6 separate regions of the Homo sapiens genome follow, and regions 1, 2, 4, 5 and 6 are each linked to region 3. The links are contacts of gene promoters, found by promoter capture Hi-C in blood cells and fetal thymus (Javierre and others, 2016). All regions are on one chromosome and are shown on one strand. Each heading gives the region's core, a stretch centred on a gene start or on the middle of the fragment in contact. The rest is flanking DNA. Distances are from core to core; before and after follow the strand shown.

The links. Contacts are between HindIII fragments. The CHiCAGO score rates a contact against its expected background, and 5 or more counts as called.
Region 1: a contact is called between a fragment that was not itself captured here and the fragment with the promoter of PIM1 in region 3, in 6 of 17 cell types (naive CD4 T cells, total CD8 T cells, fetal thymus and 3 more). The highest score is 7.8, in naive CD4 T cells.
Region 2: a fragment that was not itself captured here is called in contact with the fragment with the promoter of PIM1 in region 3 in 1 of 17 cell types (endothelial precursors); the score reaches 5.4 in endothelial precursors.
Region 4: a contact is called between a fragment that was not itself captured here and the fragment with the promoter of PIM1 in region 3, in 2 of 17 cell types (erythroblasts and total CD8 T cells). The highest score is 7.3, in erythroblasts.
Region 5: the fragment with the promoter of CPNE5 here is called in contact with the fragment with the promoter of PIM1 in region 3 in 6 of 17 cell types (fetal thymus, monocytes, endothelial precursors and 3 more); the score reaches 15.2 in fetal thymus.
Region 6: a fragment that was not itself captured here is called in contact with the fragment with the promoter of PIM1 in region 3 in 3 of 17 cell types (activated CD4 T cells, total B cells and M0 macrophages); the score reaches 6.3 in activated CD4 T cells.

What each region holds. Positions count from the first base shown.
Region 1 is chr6:36,887,141-36,891,183 of GRCh38, forward strand. The region is part of intron 1 of C6orf89 (chromosome 6 open reading frame 89); the gene reads left to right. Among named protein-coding and RNA genes, the nearest start is that of C6orf89, 3.2 kb to the left of the region's middle. The HindIII fragment of the contact is 484 bases long and covers 2,380-2,863 here.
Region 2 is chr6:36,903,610-36,907,810 of GRCh38, forward strand. All of the region lies in intron 4 of C6orf89 (chromosome 6 open reading frame 89), which reads left to right. Among named protein-coding and RNA genes, the nearest start is that of C6orf89, 20 kb to the left of the region's middle. The HindIII fragment of the contact is 813 bases long and covers 1,881-2,693 here.
Region 3 is chr6:37,167,396-37,171,614 of GRCh38, forward strand. It overlaps PIM1 (Pim-1 proto-oncogene, serine/threonine kinase), which reads left to right and starts at 2,757. Exons shown (of 6, transcript NM_002648.4): 1 at 2,757-3,262; 2 at 3,378-3,484; 3 at 3,586-3,636; 4 at 3,730-4,096. The coding sequence starts at 3,181. RefSeq lists an enhancer at 2,002-2,600 and silencers at 2,226-3,005, 3,266-3,585. The HindIII fragment of the contact is 5,698 bases long and covers 1,051-4,219 here.
Region 4 is chr6:36,860,330-36,864,311 of GRCh38, forward strand. All of the region lies in intron 2 of PPIL1 (peptidylprolyl isomerase like 1), which reads right to left. Among named protein-coding and RNA genes, the nearest start is that of PPIL1, 12 kb to the right of the region's middle. RefSeq lists an enhancer at 1. The HindIII fragment of the contact is 1,612 bases long and covers 542-2,153 here.
Region 5 is chr6:36,837,695-36,841,576 of GRCh38, forward strand. It overlaps CPNE5 (copine 5), which reads right to left and starts at 1,750. Exons shown (of 21, transcript NM_020939.2): 1 at 1,589-1,750. The coding sequence starts at 1,683. RefSeq lists a silencer at 2,214-2,423 and an enhancer at 3,108-3,658. The HindIII fragment of the contact is 11,867 bases long and covers 1-3,263 here.
Region 6 is chr6:36,756,028-36,759,909 of GRCh38, forward strand. It overlaps CPNE5 (copine 5), which reads right to left. Exons shown (of 21, transcript NM_020939.2): 13 at 218-271. Among named protein-coding and RNA genes, the nearest start is that of RAB44, 60 kb to the left of the region's middle. RefSeq lists enhancers at 1-534, 3,220-3,409, 3,245-3,882. The HindIII fragment of the contact is 2,341 bases long and covers 802-3,142 here.

The sequences.
Region 1 (4,043 bases), core at 1,372-3,871, 280 kb before region 3:
GTCTCACACTGTCGCCCAGGCTGGAGTGCAGTGGCGTGATCTCTGCTCACTGCAAGCTCCGCCTCCCCGGTTCACACCATTCTCCTGCCTCAGGCTCCCGACCTCTGCATTTTTAAAAATGAATAAAATAATAAAACATAAAATGAATAAACCATGAGCCACGAGTTACATTCAATTAGTTCGGAATGATAATTTTAGGTCCTTTCTATAAATTTGTTCAACATTGATCTGATTCCACATCTGAGGTGAATTCCCACGTCTGTTCTTAGTTTTTTGTGTTTTCTCCATTTATCTCTGCTTTCAAGAAACACTATTTAGGGTGGGAGGTAGACAGGAAAATAGATGTAATGCCAAGCCCTAGAGGTGCATAGGACAAAAACTGAGGTCAGAGTCTTAAAGAGTTCACTTATTGGACAAAGCACTGGAGACTAGGCTTTTTAGGCAGAGGAAATTGTGTATGCAAAAGCAAAAAGATGTGAAATAGTATGACAGTGTAGAATGTGAAGAAGGATTGATGGGAAATGAAACTGAACAGGTAGGCAGTGACCAGATCATAAAGGGCCATGGTAAGTAATTTGGACTTTATCTTTTAAAAAAGACAGGAATCTCATTCCATCACCCAGGTTGGAGTACAGTGGTGCTATTACGGTTCACTGCAGCCTCGAACTCCTGGGCTCAAGCTACCCCTCACCTCTGCTTCCCAAGTAGCTGGGACTACAGGCAGGCACCACCACACTCGGCCAATTTTTATTTTTATTTTTTTTGTAGATACAGGGTCTTGCTATGTTACCCAGGCTGGTCTTGGAAGTCCTGGGCTCAAGCAGTCCTCCCACCTCAGCCTCCCAGTGTTGGGATTACAGGCATGAACCACCATGCTTGACTTAGGACTTTATCTTAAAATGATTGTTATTAGGTATTTAATTTGTCTGGCTATTGGAACAAATGTGTTACATCATTTTATAATTCTCTGAAATAAAACATTGTGGGGTAGAAATAATTATCCCCATTTTATACATGAAAACTGAGGCTTAGAGAGGATGAGTAGTGTCTCATGGCCACACAGTAAGTGGTAAAATCTAGAATTTGCATCCAGCTTTTTCCAACTCCAGTATCTGTGTTCTTAGTCACCATGCTAAACTGCTCCTGCAGAGGATGGGGAGTCTTGGAAGGTGCTTAGCATGAGCCAATTTGTGTTTCAAAAAAATAAGTGGCCGAGTGCAGCGGCTCACGCTTGTAATCCTAGCACTTTGGGAGGCTAAGGTGGGTGGATCACTTGAGGTCAGGAGTTCAAGACCAGCCTGGCCAACATGGTGAAACCCATTTTTTACCAGAAAAATACAAAAATTAGCTGAGTGTGGTGGCGCGTGCCTGTACTCCCAGCTACTCCAGAGGCTGAGGCACGAGAATCTCTTGAAGCCAGGAGACAGAGGTTGCAGTGAGCTGAGATCATGTCACTGCACTCCAGCCTGAGCGAAGAGTGAGACCCTGTCTCAGAAAATAAAAATAAAAAACTGGACAAGGTAGAGAATGGATTGGGGAAGAGGAGAACTGGAAGTATAGAGATTAACTACATCTTTGTGATGGTCCATAGGAGAGATGTTGAAGACCTTAACTGTGCTGTTAATGTAGAGAGGAAGGGATGAATGTGAGAATTATATAGGAGGCTGAATCAAGAGGACTTAGTGATAGTTTCATTGGTGGGAGTGAGGTAGGAGGAGAATAGTTTTTAAATTTGGAGGATTAGTGTTTCCATTAAGAAAAGAGGTGCAGTGGGAGGAATGAGTTGAAGGGGAAAACAGTAAGTTGGGTTATAGACACATTACATACAGGGAGCTATGGGAAACTTGGATCACCGTGTCTGGTAGGCAGGTAGATAAATGGGTCTTGAACCCTAGAGAGAGTTGTAGACTGGAGAAGAGATTTGGGAATCACCAATAGCTGGTGGTCAAAGTGTTGGAGGGAATAAGAAGGTCAAGGATAACTGGTGGATACCAGCAGAGAACGAGAGAATTATGTTAAGGTTTGAGTACACTTGAGGGAGATAGATAATGGGGTAGCAACAGCAGCTGCTGCAGAGAGGTCAGATAAGGTAATAACTGAAAAAAACGTCCTTCGAACTTGGCGTTTAGAAAGCCATTTGTGGCCTCAGTGAAAGCAATGTCGGTGGAGTGAGGAGGCAGAAATATGATTTCAACAGGTTAATAAATGAATGGAAACCTGAGAAACAAGAAAGTGTGTTACTTTCTCCCCCCAACCCCCAAAGGAGCTTTCCTCTGAAGGGAGGGAGGGAGAGAGTACCAGAAACTTAGAAAGGAACTATTATGGCATTTTTCTGATAGTAGAAACTGGAAAGGGTGAGGATGGAAGCAAGTAGAGGTAAGCTTAAAAATGTGAAGACTTCTTCAAGTATGTCAATGTCCTAAAAGACCAAAAAACAAAAACAAAAAAAAAAAGAAAAACCACACACTGGGGACTTGTTCTGAAGTTAAGTAGATTAAAGAGAGGCATGGCAGCCAAATTCAATGTGTGGTCATTGGTTGGATCCTGGATTTTTAAATAGCTATATGATCTTTTTAAAAAAATTTGATAGTTAAGGAAACTTGACTATAGACTGAATATTAGGTAATATTAAGAGATTACTCATTTTAATGGGTATGGCAATAATGCCAATGGTTGTGTGTAGAATAACGTCGTTATTCTTAGGAGATGCATGTTGAAATATTTAGAAATGATTTTATAATGTGTTGCAAATAACTTTCAAGTAGTTCTGGTAAAAACAGAAAGAAAATATAGCCAAATGTAAACAACTGGTAAATCTAAATGAAGGATATCCAGGTGTTCATTGTACTATTTTTGTACAAAAAGCTTTACACATTTAATGTGTACAGCTTGATGAATTTGGACATAAGTATGCCCTTGTGAAACCATCACCATGATCCATGCCATCAACCTATCCATCACCTTCAAGTTTCCTCCTGCCTTCTTACTTATTATTACTATTAGCAATAAGAACACTTAACATAAGACCTACCTTCTTAGCATATTTTTAAATATACAATACAGTATTGTTAACTCTGGGCACTGTGCTGTATAGTAGGTCTCTAGGAGTTATTCATCTTGTATAACTGAAACTTTGTATTCTTTGCCCAGTACCTCCCTGTTTCCCCCTGCCTGCAGCCTCCTGCAACCACCATTCTGTTCTTTGCTTCTATGAGTTTAGCTATTTTAGATTAATCGCACAAGTGGTATCATGTAGTATTTATCTTTCTGTGTCTGGCTTATTTCACTTAGCATAATGTCCTCCAGGTCCATCCGTATTGTTACAAATAGCAGGATTTCTTTCTTTTTTAAGGCTGAATAATATTCCATTGTATGTATATACTACATTTAAAAAAAAAATTTTATTCTTTTGACACAGAGTCTCAGTCTGTTGCTCAGGCTGGGGTGCCATGATGTGATCTCTGCTCACTGCAACCTCCACCTCCCAGGTTCAAGTGATTCTCATGCCTCAGCCTCCCGAGTAGCTGGGATTATAGGCATGCGTCACCATGCCTGGCTAATTTTTGTATTTTTAGTAGAGACAGGGTTTTGCTATGTTATGTTGGCCAGGCTGATCTCCAGCTCCTGGCCCCAAGTGATCCACCCGCCTCAACCTCCCAAAGTTTTGGGATTACAAGTGTGAGCCACTGTGCCCTGCCTGTACCTTGATTGTAAATTTTAAGCATTTATTGTAGTTTTAAGTTATTACTCTTTTAAATCGTATTAATCATTTCAATGTTTTATCAGTTATTTTTCCTTTTAATTGATGTTTGTTTCTTTGTAGTGGTTCTTATTATAATCTAAGAAGCACTTTTTCTTTTTATTATTATTATACTTTAAGTTTTAGGGTACATGTGCACAACGTGTAGGTTTGTTACATATGTATATGTGTGCCATGTTGGTGTGCTGCACCTATTAACTCGTCATTTACATTAGGTATATCTCCTAATGCTATCCCTCCCCACTCCCCTACCCCACTACAGGCCCCAGTGTGTGATGTTGCC
Region 2 (4,201 bases), core at 1,037-3,536, 260 kb before region 3:
CCACCACGCCCGGCTAATTTTTTGTATTTCTAGTAGAGACAGGGTTTCACCGTGTTAGCCAGGATGGTCTCATAATGTCATTCTTTAAGATCTAATGAGTCATAAAAATCATCCCTTGGATTGGGTCTCCATCGAAAGCTATTTTTGTATACTTGAGGAAGTCATGGAAAGGTTTCCAAAATTGTATCAAAATCAGAGGAAGGGAACATTGTAAGACAAGAATTCCACCTCAGGAGTTTTTGTTTTTTTTTAAAAAATCAACAGCTCAGATATTTCATTTGAAAATTTCAGATGTAACTTCCTTGTATTTATTGGGAAGGTTGCTTTTGAAATGTCACCAACAGAGCTAAAAAAAAAAAAATGCAGTCTCAAACTCCTATTAGAACGGTTCAAAGTGTTTGGAGGAAACAGCGAGAGAAACTTGTCAGTTAGGCCAGTCTGTGCCTCTTCCTCAGACACACCAGTCTCCTTTCCTGACTGTCTTCCCCTCAAAGCCTCCCTAACGGCAACTCCTGATGAGTTTTCCTGACCTGGTTGATGGCATTATCTTCTTCCCCAGTCCTATAAAGTAAATCTCCATACACGGTTGAACTGAGAAATGGGGCATCGTCAATGAACACTGCTCGCTTCTTCTCTAAATCATAGTTTAAACATTCCAGAAACATTAGTGTCTTGTAAACAAGCTGGATTATTTGGACTACTTCAAATCAATATTTTGCCTTGCAGATGGAAATAAAATGAGTCCTTGGAGCTCAGTTGTAGAGAGAGCGAGTGAGCATTGGAAGGGTGTGGCTTTAGCTCTTTAATGTTGTTGATTCTATTAAAGTGCTGTTTTTACTTGTAAATGTGGATGTGGAAGCACCATATTTTCCTATGTATGATAATTCTGGGAAGCTGTAGACATGTGAAACTAACAGCATTTTGCGTAGCATTTGGAAGAAAAGTTAAAAACACGTAATTATATGAAGAGTAAACAGAAACACATGAGGGAGAATTAAGTGCAACTTAATCTGGGCCTGTAAGAGGGCAGGAAAAGTAAAAATATATCATTTTTTAATGTCCTGGTATCAAAAAACAACTACCTTCAGGTTAGGATTAGTTGGCCATACATTTAAAGTAAATGCAAGGGGAGAATGGTGTGACAGATTCCCGAAAGGAAACCCCATATGGTTTCCTGAAGTGCTGGCCTGTCTCACACTCCCAGGGTCATCTGGTGCTCCTTGCAGTGGCACCTCGGGAATGATGGAGGGCAGCTGCAGCCTTGGTGATGTACAAGAGGCACCACCACCAATGACTGGAAGTTTCCCCTGACCCCACCCAGGGAACAAAAAGGTGACAGAGGTGGGGTTCTTTTTCTAGATTTCAGCCTTAGATAGGAAATCCTGCCCCTAAATGCTCTCAATAAGAAGAATGAAGTGACTTTGCAGCGAGTCATGGAAACATCCCGCTCTGCAGCAAAAAATAAGTAAATAAACTGACAGTTGTTTATTACTTACCAGATGCCAGACCCTGTTCAGGGGGCTTTCCATATATCGGCTTATTTAATCTTGACAACATCCCTATAGGGTAGCTTCAGGTTTTATGCCCATTTTACAGATGAGGACACTGAGGCACAGTATGGTTAGGTCACTTGCTCAAGGTCCCAGGTCTGGTCACGGAGCCATGATTTGAACCCAGGCAGCCAGTCTTCAGAGTCTGAGCCCTTCGCCTCTGATGTGAGTAGTCTGTAGCTGTGCAGTAGACCTGAAGAGTCTAGCTTTAAGTCTGATGTTGGAGTTCTACCACTGTCTCTCTCGGATCATCAGTTACTTTCTCTTAACTCCCTAGTCCCTGAAGAGACAATATTCTTTCTGGCTGTTCCAAAGATAAGTGGTCTTCCAAGCTTCTGACCCTTTAGAATTTTCCCGACCTGGTGTTGTCTTAGACATTCAGCCCAGTTCATCCTCCCTAGTCTGCACCCTGACATTCAGCCCAGTTCATCCTCCCTAGTCTGCACCCTTATGGATAATATTTGACTGACTTAATCCTTCCTCTTACTGACCCAGAGTTTTCTCTTTACATTCACATTCTTACTGCTTTTCTCCCCTCCTGGCTTCATATCTTTATAGTCACTTTACTCCTGCCGGCCATCCCCTTGGTTTTTACCATTTCCATGGAATCATTGAGTCTTAAAGCCAGAAAAGAATTTTAGAGTTAATCTAGTACATACCCCATTTTATAAAAGAGGTAACTGAGGCCAGGAGAGGTAAAGGAGCTTGCTTACCCAGCTAAAAGTGGCAAAATCACACTTGAACCCTAGTTTCTTAACTCCCTCTAGCATTCTGTCCAAGATATCACACTTACAGCCTGCCATCTCTGCCCTCAGTCAAGCCAGGCGCTAGCATGTTCAGCCAATTATTTTTTTTACTTTGGTCATTTTCTGGCCAACTTAAAAATAACATATTCATTTCTACTGAGGAAGCCTGGGATAGTTCTCACATACAGTGAAAAGGCACACATTTGGAACTCGATGCATCCCGTAACCTTCAAAGGAAGGATGAAGTAGATCCAGCAACATCAAGAAGTTTTGGAAATAGCAAATCATTTATTGGCCTCAAACTAAGAATCTAGTAAGACTTAGAGAGTCCAGATCTGTGCTCAAAGATGAACTGCTTAGACCGCAAGGAAAACCTTCCTCTTTTATTTGCAAAATAAGCTTACCTTCTGTGATAATAACAGCTCTGTCAAGCACTTACTGTATACCAGGTACTGTGCCGTGCAGTTTATTTCTCAGTCTTCACAGCAGTCACATAAGGTAGATACTGTTTTTATGTTCATTTCAAAGATGAGGAAACTGATGTGCAAGGGGATTGACTGACTTATCTGAAGTCTCACATTTATTTATTTTTAATTTTTTCTTTTGCTGTGTTTTTGATAATAAATTTTCACATTTAGAAACAAATTTTTGTACAAGTGAGAACTCATGAAAATAGACTTTCTCTGTGGTTTGGAGTGGTTCAAATGCATTGCTTCCTGGAGGCAAGGCTGTTGGTGAAATGATTTCTTGGGCTCTTTCCCTCTACGGTGTGTGAAAATGGCTCTGGGCATGGTGCCACACATGCAGGGACCTGGCAGAAGCCTCCTTCATTGTCAAGGCTTCACCCCTGCCTCATGCCCGGGGTACTAGAAGAGGTGCTATGCACAAACAAGCTTCTGGAGAGCAGCCTGATTAAATATTGAGCACACACTAGTGAAAGTCATGGGAACTTTGTCATGGGCTTTGCAGGGTTTTCTTGGCTATATTTATAATGCAAGAAATGATGAAGTTATATTTATTTAATCTTTATTTTGAGGTTTCTGTGAATCCAGATTGCTCATTTGATTTTTCTCCCCATGGACTTAATTCTATTGTTAAAGCTTCTGAAAAATCAGCCTTCCTGCCTGCCTTCCTGCCTTCCTCCCTCCTTCTTTTCCTCCTTCCATCCCTTCCTCCCTCTCCCCAACTTCATTCACTCATTCAGTAAATGTTTATTGAGACCCTGCTATATATGCCAGGCACTGTTCTCAACAAAGCAGTGAACAAAACAGACAAAACCACTGCTCTTGTAGAGCTAGTATTGGCTTTGTTCTTTTCTTTCTTCCCTATCCTTTTTATCCAGAGGGAGTTTTTTGTCCTGGAAAGAAATCTTTTGTTTTGTTTTGTTTTGTTTTGTTTTGTTTTGTTTTTGCCAGGTAAATAATCTATGTAACAGTACTCTCCCCACTCAGAATTCCAGGATATGTTATGGTTGTCTACAGAGAACCAGCCTAAGTGAGTTTTCTTGTAAATAACTCTCAGGCACCAGGAAGCTCCCTGATGGGTGAGACGCTGGCCCATCCATTTTTCTGCCCAGTGCCCAACTTGTAAAGAAGGGTGGATAGTTATGGTCTCTGCACGTTGACTTCAAGGCTGTGTTTTGTCTGAGAGACTGTTTTTGACATCTCCAACAGTGAAATCATTCCAAATCATAGTGAAAACTTGAAATACAAGTTATAAGCTTTATTGAACTTTTATATGTAGGATTTCTCTTCTCTGTCATACCTTTAAAAAATGTTTAAAATATCTGGTATGAGGGATATCTGGAGTAAAGAAGCCTTAGAAATTAAAAGTAGGAAGTTGCTATATAATTTACGCTGACTTTTCTGTCTGGTGCTTCAGGAAAAGTGGTTAGAAACAGGAGGG
Region 3 (4,219 bases), core at 1,507-4,006:
TTTACAAACAAGAGTTTTATTTGCTCCTTACAACAACCCTATGAGGTAGATGCTGTTATTATCTCCATTCTGTCTAAAGCTTAATAAGGTTAAGTAACTTGACCAATGCCTAACTAGTAGCTGCCAGATCCCGGAATTGAAACCAGGCTAACTTAGTTTAAAGCCCTTGCTCCCAACTTTTATGTTCCCGAAGCCCACTTAATTCATTTAAATTTGGTATAAATTGACTTTAATTATGGCCTTTTTGTTAGAATCCATTATAGTCTTCTCTTTTATCAACAAATGTTGGATAAAGTATGCATTCAGGGAGGCTGGGCATGGTGGCTCACACCTGTAATCCAAGGAGGCTGGGCATGGTGGTTCACACCTGTAATCCCAGCACTTTGGGAGGCCGAGGCAGGCGGATCATAAGGTCAGGAGTTCGAGACCAGCCTGGCCAACATGGTGAAACTCCGTCTCTACTAAAAATACAAAAATTAGCTGGGCATGGTGGCGGGCGCTTGTAATCCCAGCTACTTGGGAGGCTGAGGCAGGAGAACCAATTGTTTGAACCCGGGAGATGGAGGTTGCAGTGAGCCGAGATAGTGCCATTGCACTCTAGCCTGGGTAACAGGGCGAGATTCCGTCTCAAAAAAAAAAAAAAAAAGGGCATTCAAGGAATAGGAAGACAAAGTATAATGGAAAAGTAAATGAACAAAAAGGATTTAAAAAAACAAATCCCAACTGTCAGATTAGTGGACAGTGAACCAATGCTCTGAGTTTGTTCATCAATCTGTGGTAGAACTACAATTGTTTCCTAAAGAGTGGAAAGGCTTTGAATAAAAGTGGAGAGGTAGAGAGGGCTCTCCCAGGACAGGTTGATTGCTTCCGCAAAGGCAAAGGGTCTGTAAAGTGCTAGGCGAGTGGGAACAAGTGGGAATAGTTCTGTTTGACTACATTTGAGGGTTTGAGAAAGGAAAGGGAGGGTAGAAGGGATGGAAGTGGGAATCACATATGTTTAATGATGTCTTGTTCGGTGCCAAGGACAGTTTTAGACCCTGATAAGCGGAAAGCTTTGAATACTCAGGAGGTGAATTTGGGTCATTTCATCTCCTCTCTTAGCTGCTGTATGACCCTGTGCCATCCTATTTATGTTTCATTTTCCTATCTGCAAAAAGGGAGTAATTCTTGTTCCCTTGGGTTTTCTCCTAGTCATAAAAAATGAATGAGTTCGGCCACAGTACACAAACAAAAGGAAAATATGTAATATTTTGTAGGATAAATTCATAAAAGTTGTGGAGGATCTGGGCACTTTTATAAAGCAAGCACTGTAGAAAACTTTCAAAGGAAACATTTAAATTCACTAATGACAGCTATAGGGATCCTGATTTTTCCTTTAAATGGCAGGCACTTCAAAAAATTAAAATAGAATGTAGTTAGCTTTCAATTACTTAGGCCACTGACAATTCAATTTATGGATTATATAGTATTTTAATTTACTCATTTCACACGTCGTTATCAACTCTACATGAAGTTTAAAAGGACAAAGGATGCAAGTGGAATTGGTCAGTGTTCCGGGTTATTTCCAAGGGAGGCAGAGGGTGGGGGGTTTCCTTTGAGACAAGACTTGGGGTTGGCCAATAATTGCTGGTATTGCCTGCCTGGTAATAACAGGCTGATGAAAAGGTGACTACAACGTGAAAACTGGTTAAATCAAGCGCACCCTCCCACCCTCGTTTTAGATGAGGAATTTTCCGCCCTCACAGAAGGGGCTGAGGCAGCATCTGGCATCACAACACTAACATTTGCTTCGTGATTTCCTCTTTACCCGGCCCTTTGACACACATCCCTTCCCAGAAATCAGGATTCGCTGGTGCTTTTGCATTTCTAAAATGGGAATCCCGTGGCTGAGCTTTTAGCCGGCCGGAACGACTGAGGGCTGCATCCCTTTCCCGCAGGAGCGGGGCTCCCGCCTCCAGTTCTGTTCCAGGCCTGACTCCTCCACTCCCTCCGTGACTCATGTCCTGCGGATCCTTCGCCCCCGACGCGCCCCCCAACACACAAACCCCCAGAATCCGCCCCCAGCCTACAGCGCGACGTCAGCCCGCCCCAGCCGACTTGGAGGTCTCGGGTCTGAGTCACACAGAAAGACCACCCTCGTCGGCATCCCCACACACAGTCCGACACCCGGCGCGCCGGCCTCCCCGCCTGACACACTAACGCCCGTCGTCTCCGCGCAACTTGTTATGCTCCGGCTCGAGCCCTTGACCCAAAACCCTCAGCGAAACGGAGAGCCGCAGAGCCGGCCTCGGGCGGCCTTTGATGGCTTTGTTATTGTTTGGGTTTGAATCGATACGCCCCTCCCCATCCTTCCTCCCTCGCGGCCCTACACCCAGCTCCCGCCTCCCCTCACGCCCCGCGCCCCTCCCCCTCCATTTTGGCGCCTTTTCCTTCCCGCCACGTCGTGGCGGCGTAGAGACCATTCTGACCGCGAGAGCTGGGCGGGGCGGGGGCGGGGCGCGCCGAGTTATGCAGATCAATCGGCCTCTGGTTGGCTGGAGTAGCGCTGGCAGGGGCGGGGCCGGGGCGCGGCCACAGAGCGCGCGGGGCGGGGGCCGAGGGGAGTCGCCCAGTCCCGCCGCTTCCCCACCCCCTCTCCTCCCTCGGCCGGCCCGGCAGCCCTGCTCCCCGCCTTGGCCTCCCGGAGAGGCCCCGCCCCGTCCCCGCCCGCCGCGCCCTCCCCGCGCGCCCTCCCCGCCGGCGCGCTCCTCCCCTTTACTCCTGGCTGCGGGGCGAGCCGGGCGTCTGCTGCAGCGGCCGCGGTGGCTGAGGAGGCCCGAGAGGAGTCGGTGGCAGCGGCGGCGGCGGGACCGGCAGCAGCAGCAGCAGCAGCAGCAGCAGCAACCACTAGCCTCCTGCCCCGCGGCGCTGCCGCACGAGCCCCACGAGCCGCTCACCCCGCCGTTCTCAGCGCTGCCCGACCCCGCTGGCGCGCCCTCCCGCCGCCAGTCCCGGCAGCGCCCTCAGTTGTCCTCCGACTCGCCCTCGGCCTTCCGCGCCAGCCGCAGCCACAGCCGCAACGCCACCCGCAGCCACAGCCACAGCCACAGCCCCAGGCATAGCCTTCGGCACAGCCCCGGCTCCGGCTCCTGCGGCAGCTCCTCTGGGCACCGTCCCTGCGCCGACATCCTGGAGGTTGGGATGCTCTTGTCCAAAATCAACTCGCTTGCCCACCTGCGCGCCGCGCCCTGCAACGACCTGCACGCCACCAAGCTGGCGCCCGGTGAGAGCACCCCCCGCCTCCGGCCCGGGGATGCGGGGCGGCGGCGGGATCTCCTGGGTGGGGAGCTGGCGGCTCGCGGGCCGGCACTGAGTCCCCGTGCTTCCCCCTTTCCTAGGCAAGGAGAAGGAGCCCCTGGAGTCGCAGTACCAGGTGGGCCCGCTACTGGGCAGCGGCGGCTTCGGCTCGGTCTACTCAGGCATCCGCGTCTCCGACAACTTGCCGGTGAGTGGGCGCCCCGCGGTGGGGAGGGCGCGCCGGGCGGGGGGCGCACGGGCGTGCTTTAGCCCGGACGAGGGAACCTGACGGAGACCCTGGGCTTCCAGGTGGCCATCAAACACGTGGAGAAGGACCGGATTTCCGACTGGGGAGAGCTGGTGAGTGCCCTGCAGGAGCGACCCCCAGGATGAGTGGGTGGGGTGAGGGGCGCCCCCGACTCCCGCCCTAACGCGGCCCCCTCGCCCCTGCAGCCTAATGGCACTCGAGTGCCCATGGAAGTGGTCCTGCTGAAGAAGGTGAGCTCGGGTTTCTCCGGCGTCATTAGGCTCCTGGACTGGTTCGAGAGGCCCGACAGTTTCGTCCTGATCCTGGAGAGGCCCGAGCCGGTGCAAGATCTCTTCGACTTCATCACGGAAAGGGGAGCCCTGCAAGAGGAGCTGGCCCGCAGCTTCTTCTGGCAGGTGCTGGAGGCCGTGCGGCACTGCCACAACTGCGGGGTGCTCCACCGCGACATCAAGGACGAAAACATCCTTATCGACCTCAATCGCGGCGAGCTCAAGCTCATCGACTTCGGGTCGGGGGCGCTGCTCAAGGACACCGTCTACACGGACTTCGATGGTGAGCCAGGCCCGGGAGGGAGCTGCCCAGGTGACTCGGCCCGGCCCGGCCCAGTCCGGAGGCCTCGGCCAGTCTCCCGCGCCAGCCTTTTGTAAAGGTCATTGGGCCGCCTGGCTCGATGCT
Region 4 (3,982 bases), core at 98-2,597, 310 kb before region 3:
CCTGCAGTCCCAGCTACAGCTACTCAGGTGGCTGAGGTGAGAGGATCACTCAAGCCCAGTAGGTCGAGGCTAGAGTGAGCTGTGATTGCGCCATTGCACTCCTGTCTGTCTCCAAAAAAAAAGAGATTCTTTTCCTCTTCTGTCCTCTGTCCTCTCTTGGGATCATTTATTCAATGTATTTATTTCAGACACGCAAACATACAAAGAATAATATGACCAATATCTATGACCACCTCCGCCCCCAAGAAATAAACTATTGCAAATCCAGCTAAGACCCCATGCATACACCCCACTGCATCTCTCCCCACCACTCATTCTCCTGAGAGCTAACAGCTGATTCAAAGAATCACATTTTCCTCTCAGGTAACCACTATTCTGACAAGAATTTGGCATTTCCATGCATTTTCTTTTTTACTACACATATATGTATCCCTAAAAAAAAAAAAAAAAAAGTATTGCTGTTTTGCATGTTTTTAAGCTTTTTTACTACACATCTATGTACCCCTAAAAAAAAAAAGTATTGTTGTTTTGCATGTTTTTAAGCTTACATAAGTGGTATTACACTTTATATATTCTCAACACTGTTTGAGAGACTCATCTACTTTGTTCCAGGCAGGTCTCTGTAGTGTTCACCTCACTGTATGACCATAATGCTCTGTCTTATCTTTTCTGGTGTTGATACTGAGGATCTTTCCAATGTTTTGGTTATTATCGACCATGCTATAAAAACTATTCTTATACTGTCTCCGAAATCCAAGTGCAAGAGCTCTCGGGGGCCAATACCTCACAGGGGATACACAGGGTCATAGTTTGAGTATTTCATCATTGCTAGATTTTTCTAAGTGCCTTATTGAAAAGGATGAACCAACATGCACCCCACCCCGCAGCACTCTCACTCTTACTGCTCTAGGTCCTTCTGTCAGTCTGAGAAGTGTGAGACCTCTTGTGGTGTTTTAAACTGCATTTCTCTGAAGTTTGGCATAATTTCATGTTTACTGGCTTATTTAGCTTGTCCCCTCTGTGAACGGCCACTCAGTGGTATGACATTTTGGAATTGATACATACAGTCATCCCTTGGTATACTCAGGGGATTGGTTCCAGGATCCCTGTGACACCAAAATCCCTGCTCGCTCAAGTCCCGCTGTGGGCTCTGAGAAAACTGTATGGACCTCCATGGTTCAAACCCATGTTGGTAAAGGCTCAACTATATACTATAGATACTAATCCTCTGTCAGTGAATGTTTTGCAAATACCTTCTCCCAGTTAACTTTTTTCACTCTTGTAATGGGATCTTCCAATGAACAGAACCTTTGCAGTTAACATTTCTTAACCTTCTTCTTTATGATCTGTGTTTTTTTTTTTTTTTAATTCCTTTTTTTTTTCTGAGACAGAGTTTCGCTCTTGTGGCCCAGGCTGGAGTGCAATGGTGCCATCTTGGCTCACCGCAACCTCCGCCTCCCAGGTTTAAGCAATTCTCCTGCCTCAGCCTCCCGAGTAGCTGGGATTACAGGCATGCGCCACCATGCCTGGCTAATTTTGTATTTTTAGTAGAGACGGGATTTCTCCATGTCGGTCAGGCTGGCCTCAAACTCCTGACCTCAGGTGATCTGCCTACCTCGGCTTCCCAAAGTGCTGGGATTACAGGTGTGAGCCACTGTGCCTGGCCTGTGTTGTTTCTTAAAAACAAAACACAAAAAACCCTTTTCTCATCCCTGTGACTCCTGTGATGTCCCTTCCTCCTCCTCTTAGTCACTGTGGAAACCTGTCAAAATGATGTCTAAGGCATGGGACATGCAGTGTCTTACACCAAGATGACCACACTTGGTGCTACTTGTCCCCGCCCCTCCCACCCCACAGTTGATGGGACAATAGATTAATATCCAGCCCCACAGATGGGCAGTGGCCTATAAGGAGAGCCAGTGGGGCACCTGACACCAGAGGGCAACTGACCAATCAAAGCCTCTCTTCTGGCAAGAGTGCCTCTAACAGACACTGTCCGTCAGTAGTCTCCTGAGCATCCCCAGCCTCCTCCTCCACAGCCTGCCTCAACCTCAGAGACAAAAAAGGCAGGTGCTGACAAGTCCATTTTGCAGACAGGCGTGGCCAGATGACCCAGTTGTGACTTACTGATACAAACAGAAGTCGCTGAGTCAAGCTTCTGAGAAAGCTACAGCTTTCCTGATAAAAACAGACATACTCTTTTGTCCTTCATCTACAGCTCTTTCCCATCTTCCTTCTTTGAAAGTAGGGTGATGCCAGAACAGCAGCAGCCATCTTGCAACCATAAGACTAACAAGTTCAAGACCAAAGGCCAACACATTACGAATGAAGTGGGGAAAGATATGGCAAGCCTAGATCCCTGACAACTCTTCTGGGCTGGTGAAGAGATGACAATAACTGCTCACTTCCAGACGTTCTGTTGTGTAAGAAAAAACAGCCCGTGGGATTAGGTTTTCTGTTACTTGTAGCCAAAAGCAGTGCTACCTGACACAAACACTTTGTTAATATACCAGACGGGAACAATGCCACAGTCCTCCAAGGGGCTTTGTGGTTCTGAAGATGCTGTCTTCTCTTTCTCACTTGCCTTTGGGGTCAGAGACGTCTGGATTCCAGTTCTGACCCCACCAATTACTGTTTAACCTTAATCAAGACACTTTCTCTCCAAGCCTCAGTTCCCCTGTCTGCAAAATGGGAGTAGCAGTAACACCTATGTCTCACAGGCTTGTTATGAGAATTAAATGAGACAGCATATGGAAGCTATCTGGTGTGTAACATGAGGCAAACACACAGTAGTGTCAGTGATGAAGAGCCCCTTTAACTGAGGTAACCCGAGCATTTTCTCTGAGAAGCTGCTGGTCATGATTCAAAGTGCCACCTCGGGAGGCAGCCTGCCTGGGTTTATTCAGTTCCTCTGTCCTCAAATTTCCACCACTCCCTCGCTGCTGCTCACTCTTTGAGGAGAACCTTGCTTCTTATTTCACTGAGAAGAAGGAATTATCAGAAGAGAACTTTCACATGCTCTCACCACCAAAGCCCCTTCCCTTCCTACACCTCTACCCACCTCCCTTCCCTAAGACACTGTGTGAATAAGCTGTCCATGACTATCCTACCACCACGTACCCAATCCCGCTCACCTTTAAAGAACTCAGCAACTACAACCTCCCCCTCTAGTAGACCAATTTTTCTCTTTCTAATGGATCATTCCTGTCAGCATTTAAACATGTTATTGATATTTCCTATTTTAAAAAGCAAAACTCTATTTCCAAGTATCCTCCTATTTCTCTACATCCCTTCACAGAAAAACTCCTTGAAAAAGCTGTCAACACCAAGTGTCTCTACTTCTCCCCATTCTTGCTTGAACATGCTCCATTCAGACTTTCGCCCCTCACCGCTCCGCTGAAACTGCTCTTGTCAAGGTCGCCAGTGACCTCCACGTGGTTATACCCAGTGGTCAATCCTCAGCACTCACTTTACTTGATCCACACTCGATGTCACCCTTCTGCTTGAGTTGCTGTCTTCCTTTGGCTTCCACGACTCCACATTCTCCTGGTGTTCCTCGCTGCTCACTGGCAGCTGCTCCTCCTCCGCCCCTCTGCTTTCACAGGTGTTACTCAGGCCTGCGCTGCTGTGTGAAGACCTTCCCTTCCAAACCTGGTTCCCTGACCCTTTATCTTTCACAGGTGTTACCCAATAAACCTCTATCTTGGTGTTTGCTTCCCAGAGGACCAGAACTAACACAGCTGCTATCACCCTAGTTCAAACAACAACCATCTCCAGCTTGAATAGGAATAAAAGCTTCCCACTGGTCTCCTTGCTTCCAGCCTTGCCTCCCTCTTTCCCCACCCTCTATTCTTCACATGGTAGCCACAGGGATCCTTTTCAAACAAGCCTAATCGCAGCACTCCCCTGCTTGAAACCCTCCATCAACACTGTATCACTCTGAGAACAAAATCCACAATCCTCACCACAGCTTACAACACCC
Region 5 (3,882 bases), core at 500-2,999, 330 kb before region 3:
GAGTGGGGGGATCATGAACTTGGGGAGATAAAGGAAGAGTGAAATCTGGATGGGGAATGGGCTGTTCAGAGGCTTGGAGGTGGGAAGGATCCCAAGACAACTGAAGATGACAGGCATGATTGAAGGCTGGGAGGGAGTGCCAGGCGCAGGGATGTGCGTGCAGGAGAAGGGTGGGGAGGCCGTGCTGCTTTTGATGGCTGAGGAGGTGAGACTGGAGCTAATGGGCCATCAGGAATCTCCCAGCAGAGTAATGACAAGATGCAAATGGCGTTGGGAGATGATCCTGACGGCATGGTGTATGGGACCTGGGAGCTATCACAGGAGCCCCCAGAGGGCCTGGCTTAGGGGGGAAGCTACGTTCAACCAGACTAGCCTTCACTGCCACTTATCCCCAAGTCTTCAAGAGAAAGTCACACTGAGTCCTTCCCTCCTTCACGCCCCTGCCCAGACTCTCCAGCTCTACCTACACCTCATCAATGCCACAACTTTGTAATACAGGACTGGGGGGCAACAAGGTTACCTCTCATGGAGGGTCTGACCAAGGAGCAACCTGGAAGAGGATGAGATGGGTGATTTCGAACAAGGGCACAGCCAGGGCTCCAGAAATGCTGTCGGTGATCTGGGGCAGGGGGCATGGCCTCTGTGGGGGAACCTCAAAGTGGGTGATGCTTGCGTGGCAGCACATGATCCTAGGCCAGCCACAGAGAGACTGAACTAGGGAAAAATCCCCCTTTGCCACCCATACCCTCTTACTGCCAGGGGCAGCCTTCCCCTAGCTAGGAGAACCTGGGGTCGACCCAGCTCTTAGACAGAGAAGTTACCCCCAAACCCTGTGTGACATGAGTGAAGATTTGGGCGTGGTAGCCCACAAAAATATTCCCCCTCCTCCTCTGTTGGACTCTACAGTTTCACAATCAGTGTTCTATTCCTTTGGCTTAAGATTTTTGACCCAAGTTATTTTTTTAATGGTGCCACTTTAAGTTGTTATCATGTATCCACACCTTAGTATGAATGAGTCAATCTGATCCTTTTCCAGGAGTCGATTTCGTTGTTGATAGAGATGAAGGAAGGCTTTAAAATCCTAGAGTCTAGGACAGTGGGGTGGGGGAGACTGGTGAGGGGAGGATCAGGATGCTGGGGCAAAGAAGGGGCAAAGAGAGAAGAGAGGAGGGCACAGAAGGGAGAGGGTGGACGAGCCTGGGAGGGATGGGGGCAAATCACTCACTTCGTGATTTGGGGATGGGGTGATCAGAGATAGCCTGAGCAGAGACCGTAGTACAGCCTTTTACCAACTCCCTCTCCCCACTTGGGTGCCTGGACCCCCTGTTCCTGTGTCTTCATATCTCCTCGATGCAACAGCCTGGAGCGCAAACTTTCTGGGATATGACCCCAGCCTGGCTTCCTATTCTGCCGTCGCCACCCGCAGCTGGACAGGACAGGGGCTCTTGGCAGATCGGCAGGGGCGCAGTCCTGGAGACCAGGACACTCTGGGAAGGGGGCGCGCGGAGGTTTAGGATCGAAGCGGCAGGGGCCGCGGGGCTCTGCGTCCAGGGCCGGGGCAAGGGGACCCGGCCAGCGGGAGGCTCACCTGCAGGACACGGTGATCTCCACCTTGGTGGCCGGGATGCTGCCCGCCAAGGAGTCGAACTCGCTCAGCGACGCCATGTCCTCAGGCTGCTCCATCGCCCACCGCACCCCCCACCCCAAATTAGTCAATCCCTGCGCGATTCACGCCTCCTCCGGAGCGACTGGAGCCCTGGGCTCTCCCCCAACTCCAGAGCCTGGGCTGGGCGGCAAGGGGAGGAGAGAGGAGCGCGAAGAGGGGGCGTGGGAAGTGAGAGAGGGAAGAGGGCGGAGGGAGCGGGGGCCGCGGATCGAGGAGGGGGCTCGGGTGACGCCGCGAGGAGGCTAGGGGCCCAGTGGGGAAGGGCAAGGAGCCCAGGGAGCGGGGGCACAGCGGGGAAGGCAGAGAGGGGCGCGGGGAGAGGGGCTCGGGGAGAGGGCACCGGGAGGGAAACGCGGAGTCGTGGAGAGGGGCACCAGGAGAGGGACGCGCGTCTGTGGGCAGAGGTAGAGGGGATGCAGAAGACAGGGAGAGGGGCGTGAGGAGCGGGAGGCGCCGGATGGGGCGCTGGCGGCGGGGGTGGCGGGGCGCCGGCAGCGCGGAGCCCGAGCGCCCGGGCTGCGCCGCCTCTCCCTGGGTCTTGGCGCCGGCGGCGACGGGGCTGAGACGCGGCTGCGAGCGCCACCTCCTCGGCTCGGGCTTCGGCTCCGGGGCGCCCGGGCTGCGGGAAAATCAAATCTGCCCGAAGCCGCAGCCTCCCGCCGCCCGGGAACGCCAGAGGGGGCGCCCGCAGGGGCCGGGGCGGGGCCGCGGGCGGGGTCTGCGCGCAGGGTGAGTGTGAGCGTGTGTGTGTGCGCGTGTGTGTGTGTGTGCGCGCGTGGCGGGCCGGGGGACGCGGTCCAGATGCTGGGGACGTGGCGGGTGACAGCAAGAGGTGGTCCTGGTCGCGCGCATCTTCATTTGCGCCCGCCCCCTCTCACCACCCCTATCTCCCATCAGGGGTCTCCATCCTGGGGGAGGGGGAGGGTTATGGGAACCAACGGGCGCCTTTTTGAGAAAGGTCTATGCAGGGTTGAGAGGGGGCATAAGTGGGAGGGAGGTGTGCAAAAAAGATCCCCTCCCAGGGGCTTGGGTGTGGAGGGTCTCTGCTGAGTGTGCGCCCTACTCGGGGGCGGGTCTCAGTTCAGAAACAGACCCTACATCTCCTTCTGGGGAGGTGTGTGGGGGCGACCCCAGTGCCAGGAGGGACTACCTCGGTTTCCCAGTGGCCCAGGTGGGGTCGGTGCATGGGCGCCTCCCCCATCCGTGGTTCCCGCCAGCCGCGGCCTCGCCAAGTCGGCTGCCGAAACCACGCGCCAGCGCCCTTCCACTCCCCCGCCCGTCGTGACCACACGACTGAGCCAGCCTCCAGGTCTAGAAGCTCCTGCCACCCAGTCTGGTGGCAACCAGACTGGGAGATCGGCCCGAGCTCCCTGGGCTTCTATGCAGCCAGCACCGAGTAGGCGCGTGCTGTGTGCCTGGCGAGCGAGGGGAGAGTTGGGACACCTCTCCTGCAGTCCTCTTCCCAGCCAAGCCCCTCGCGATCCCCCGCCCTAGCCCAGCCTTGCCCTCCCGGGCATGAGGTTGCAGCGCAGAGGCGTCTCCCTGAGTAAGGCTGCACACGTAGACTTGACTCTAGCCCATCCTCAGCCTCAGCCTAAGCTTTGCCGAGCTGGAACCTCCACTTCCTCGCCCACCGCCTGGCACATCGAAGCCGATGTGCCTCGGGCCGGCGGGGAGGCCAAAAACCTGGTGCTGGGCTGGGCAGAGTTGCGCTCTCTGGGCCTTGTTTGTGGCAGCGGGACCATAAGGGGCTCCTCCGGATTCTGTTTGAAGTCAATTCCTGGAACATCAGATACTGTCAGTCAAAGATAAATACAAGAACACATTCCTCTGCCTGTTACAATTTCCCCATGGCTCAGAATCAGCTGGACTGGGTTCTGCCTCCTGGAACAGGCAGCAAGGGACAGAGGCTGTTAATTCCCCTGACAGCCAGGCACAGCTGGGTCAGGAGGCCCCACTCCAAGGAGAATAATTCTGTCTTCCCTTCCTGAGGATGCAAAACTGAACTCGGAATCTCTATGTTCCCCATCCCCCACATACCTGGCATAAACAATGCTCAAAGCATGCTTGTGGAATATGTTCTCCATTCATTCCAGGAGTGTTTACTGAGCATCTGCTGTGTGCCTGGCCCAGTGACAGGGCCTTGGGAAACCTTGTTCATAACAATAATTAGCATCGTTTTATTTTCAAAGATCTGGGCCAGACACCATGCTTAC
Region 6 (3,882 bases), core at 722-3,221, 410 kb before region 3:
AGATACAGCCAGCGCCTGTTGTGTGGTCTGCAAGTCAACTCTCTCCCCTGGCTGTTGCTCCATCTGCCCCACCCCTCCCCACCCCATCTCTCTTGGATGTCTGATTCCCACGCTCAGCCCCTGCACACACACAGACGCACGGGCCTCCCTGATACCAGACCTAGCTTGGGGCTCAGAATGTCTACACCCGGCTGCAGAGACCGGGGTGGCTACTCACTGTGCCAGAATTCACGTATTTCTTTTTCTTCATTTTCTTTTTCGGGTTTACCACCTGCAGGAAAAACCAGTTACCAGGTAAGGCATGCTTCCAGGCAGTCAGGGTGAGTCTTGAGGGCTTCCAACCACCCATGGGTGTGGTCCAAGCCCAGCCCCATTAGAGTGTGGGGTGTGAAGACCACGGGGCCAGGGGAGAAGGGTTTAAGGAGGATTTGTGGGAGACTGGTATTGAGTCTGGGTTACACAACTGGGTTCTCCCATCAGACCCAGGGTCCCACGATCAACCGGGAATATTTATTTAACCTTCTCTCCCACTGTTCCCCGGAACACACGCACCCTCCACCCAGTATAGCCAAAGAAGTCTTGATGTTGCAAAGCGGCCCTATCTGTACCTGTCCCTTGTGTTGGTTGAGGCTGCTCCCCTCACCAAAAATGCACCCCCTTCCTCTCTCAGCCAATTCCAATCTCCCCTGTTCCTCCTTTGGGACCCAGCCCAAGGGCTGCCCAGGGCCTCTGAGGCTCCCCTCTCCATCACCATCCCTCTTACTTGGCAGCAAGAACCTCTTTAGCTATTCTTTGAGTGTAAGCTTTAACTTCCAAACCAGACCTGTGTCAGATAAATCATGGGGCTAGGCTCAGAGTAGGTGCTCAGAGAAGGCTTGTTGGTGGCTAACTCAGCGGTCTCAACCAGGGGCGATTTTACCCCCAGGAACGTTTGGTAACATCTGGAGACGGTTTTGGTTTCCACAACTGAGGGGGTGAGTAGAGGCCAGGCATGCTGCTAAACATCCTACAGTACACAAGACAGCCTCCCACGGCAGGGAGTGATGCAGTCCCAAATCCCAGTAGTGCCAAGGCCAAGACTGGGCAAAGTGACGAGAGCCACCCAGCCCTGAGGCCCCCCACGAGACTTCCGCACTTACTGTATTTGTATTCTCATTTGACCCTCGCCAGTTTTTCTTTGTTTTGTTTTTAATAAGGGAAGTCTAGGCACAACTTTTCCCTAATGTCCCATCAAACAAAGCCAGGCAATTTTCATACCTCCTGTGCTGCCTGTTGGTTTCTGGTGAACTCATTTCCCCTTTCCCTGTCTTTGTTCCCACAGAGGCCGTCAGCTGATCTTTACCGTGGTCTCTTCTGTCTGGGTGAGTATTGCTATCTACTTCCAGCAAGAAGGAAACTAAAGCACAGCGACACCAGGTGATTTGCCTAAAGTCACACAGCCATCTGGGTAGTGACAGGATTAGAAACCAGGTTTCCTGCCCCCGGGCCAGTGGTGCATACATTGGTGCCACCTTGATAACAGATACAAACAGATCTCTTTGACATACATTTATGGGGTGGGTGGAGACATATATTGCTTCTCCCCTGGAATCATCTATCACCTATGTTGGAGAGAGAAGATATGTCCTCAGGGCAAAAAGTGACAAGGGCCATGGAACAAGGGGGATCACAGAAGTGTCAGGGGAGTTAGAGGAAGGAAAGACCACTCTAGGTGAGAGTGTCAGCAAAGCCTCTCTGGAGCAGGAAGTCTTGAAGGCAGACTTAGAGGCACAGGAAGGCTCTGGGCACGGAGAGATGGATGTCAGAGGAGGTTCTGTGGGAGAAATGAATAGAACCCAGGCCCAGTTTGATGGCAGAACCACAGGGTGGAAGAGTAAGCTGGGCTGGTTGGAGGAGAGCCTAGAATGCCCAGTGAAAAATGTCTGAATGTCACCCAGCGGCCTGCAGGGAACTCTGATGACCCCCAAGCTGGTAGGAGACAAAATCAGAGCAGGCTCTAGGACACTGGGGCCTGGTGGAGGTGAGTGTGAGGGGAGGAGGAGGCTCATCCAGGAAATATTTGCCTAGTTCTGCCACCTAATAATAGCTGTGTGACCTTAGGCAGGTTACTTAACCTCAATGTGCCTCAGTCTCCTCATCTCTAAAATGGGAATAAGAAGTACCTGCCTCCCGGAAAGGTATGAGGATTAAATGGGCCAATGCAAGCAAAGTGCCTAGAACAGTTTGGAATGTAGTAAGTATTATCTATACGTGTCTGTTGCTTTTTTCTAAGACGGGGTCTTGCTCTATGGCCCAGGCTGGAGTGCAGTGGTGGGGTCATAGCTCACTGTGGCCTCAACCTCCCGGGCTCAAGCAATCCTTCCAGGTAGCTGCCACCATGTCTGGCTATTTTTTTTTTTTTGGTAGAGATAGGATCTCGCTATGTTACTCTGGCTGGTCTCAAACTCTTGGGCTCAAGCAATCCTCCTGCCTCAGTCTCCCAGAGTGTTGGGATTACAGGCGTGAGCCACTGCACCCAGCCTTAGTTGCTATTTTTCAAAATTACTACTACTATTATTACTGCCACCATAAGTCCATGCGAGAGGTCATGAGGACTTGGGGGTATTGGGACAGGTGCTGAGCTATGGTGAGAACAGCGCTGTCAAGAAGTGACCACGCCTCTTGGGCCCTGGGCGTGGCTATAGAGGTTCGAGAGAGGGAGGGGTTGGGGTGACCAGGTAGACACAGAAGGAAGGCGCTGGATTTGGGGCACAGGTGGGAAGTTCACGTGGGAGGTCTGGCAAGCTGTGCAGGTAGAAACTGAGGGCCTGGGCGAGATGGTGAGAGAGCCCGGGAGAGAAGACCAGAGCACCCTCTTTAGCACTGGAGGACGCCCCCTCCACGGGGTTACCCAGATGGTGAGGTGCTCACGGACACATTCATGGGAAAACAGCTTAAGTAGGCAAGCTGTTAAGATGAGGGCAAAATGGCAGCCCCAGTGCTGCACTGTGCCTCAGTTTCCCAATCTCTCCCTTGAGGGTGTTGAACTATCGGAATGGACAGCATCTCAAACTTTTGCTCCAACATAGCCCTCCCAGCTGGGGAGAATGAACCCGGAGTCCTGAGAGTAACCAAAGATTTGGCCACAAGCATGTTTCTTCTAAGCTTTCTATGTTATCTTTAAATTAGCCTGTATTCCACATTTCCACTCTCTGATATAACTGCTTTAATGTTAAAGCAATGTTCTGTTCTCAGATCCCTGTTTACCCTGAGGTTTCATGCTCCCAGCCTCAGCCTCTCCAGCCCCGCCACGGTGAATCCCATGCAGGGGGCCAGCGCCACCTAGGGGCCAGCCGAGGAGCTGCCCCTCCACTAAGTCACCTCCCTTCTTCTTGGTGGTCAGGCGGGGACAGGACAGGTCTGGAATCTGCCCTCCTGCGCACATTAGGTGGGGTGGGTGGGGGCACTGAGGGGCTCCTAGGGGCCAGGAGCTGTGCTGGCTCTGGGGATGCAGCAGTAAGTGCAACACAACCCCCACCCTGAGGACTTCAAGGTCTTTGAGGGGTTGAATAGTGTCACAAAACAGAAAATAGCCAGAAGGAACCCCAGGAGCACTGACAAGTGTCCACTCCAGGCTCTGGGGTGGGGCGGGTGTGCAGGTGGACACAACTTCCTGGAGGAGGAACACCCACAGGGAGGCTCCGTGGACCAATAGCTCCTACCCAGGAGAAGACAAGAGGGAGTCTCAGGTGGAGGCACCCATATGAATCGAGCCCTGGAGGCTGAGACAGCACGGAGGTTCAGAGAGCCTCAGGTGGCAGGACGGGGATGAATGTGGGAATGGGCAGAGGGAAGGGGCAGGGGCCAGCTCCTAGGGGCCTCCAAAGGCATGTGATGTGTGTT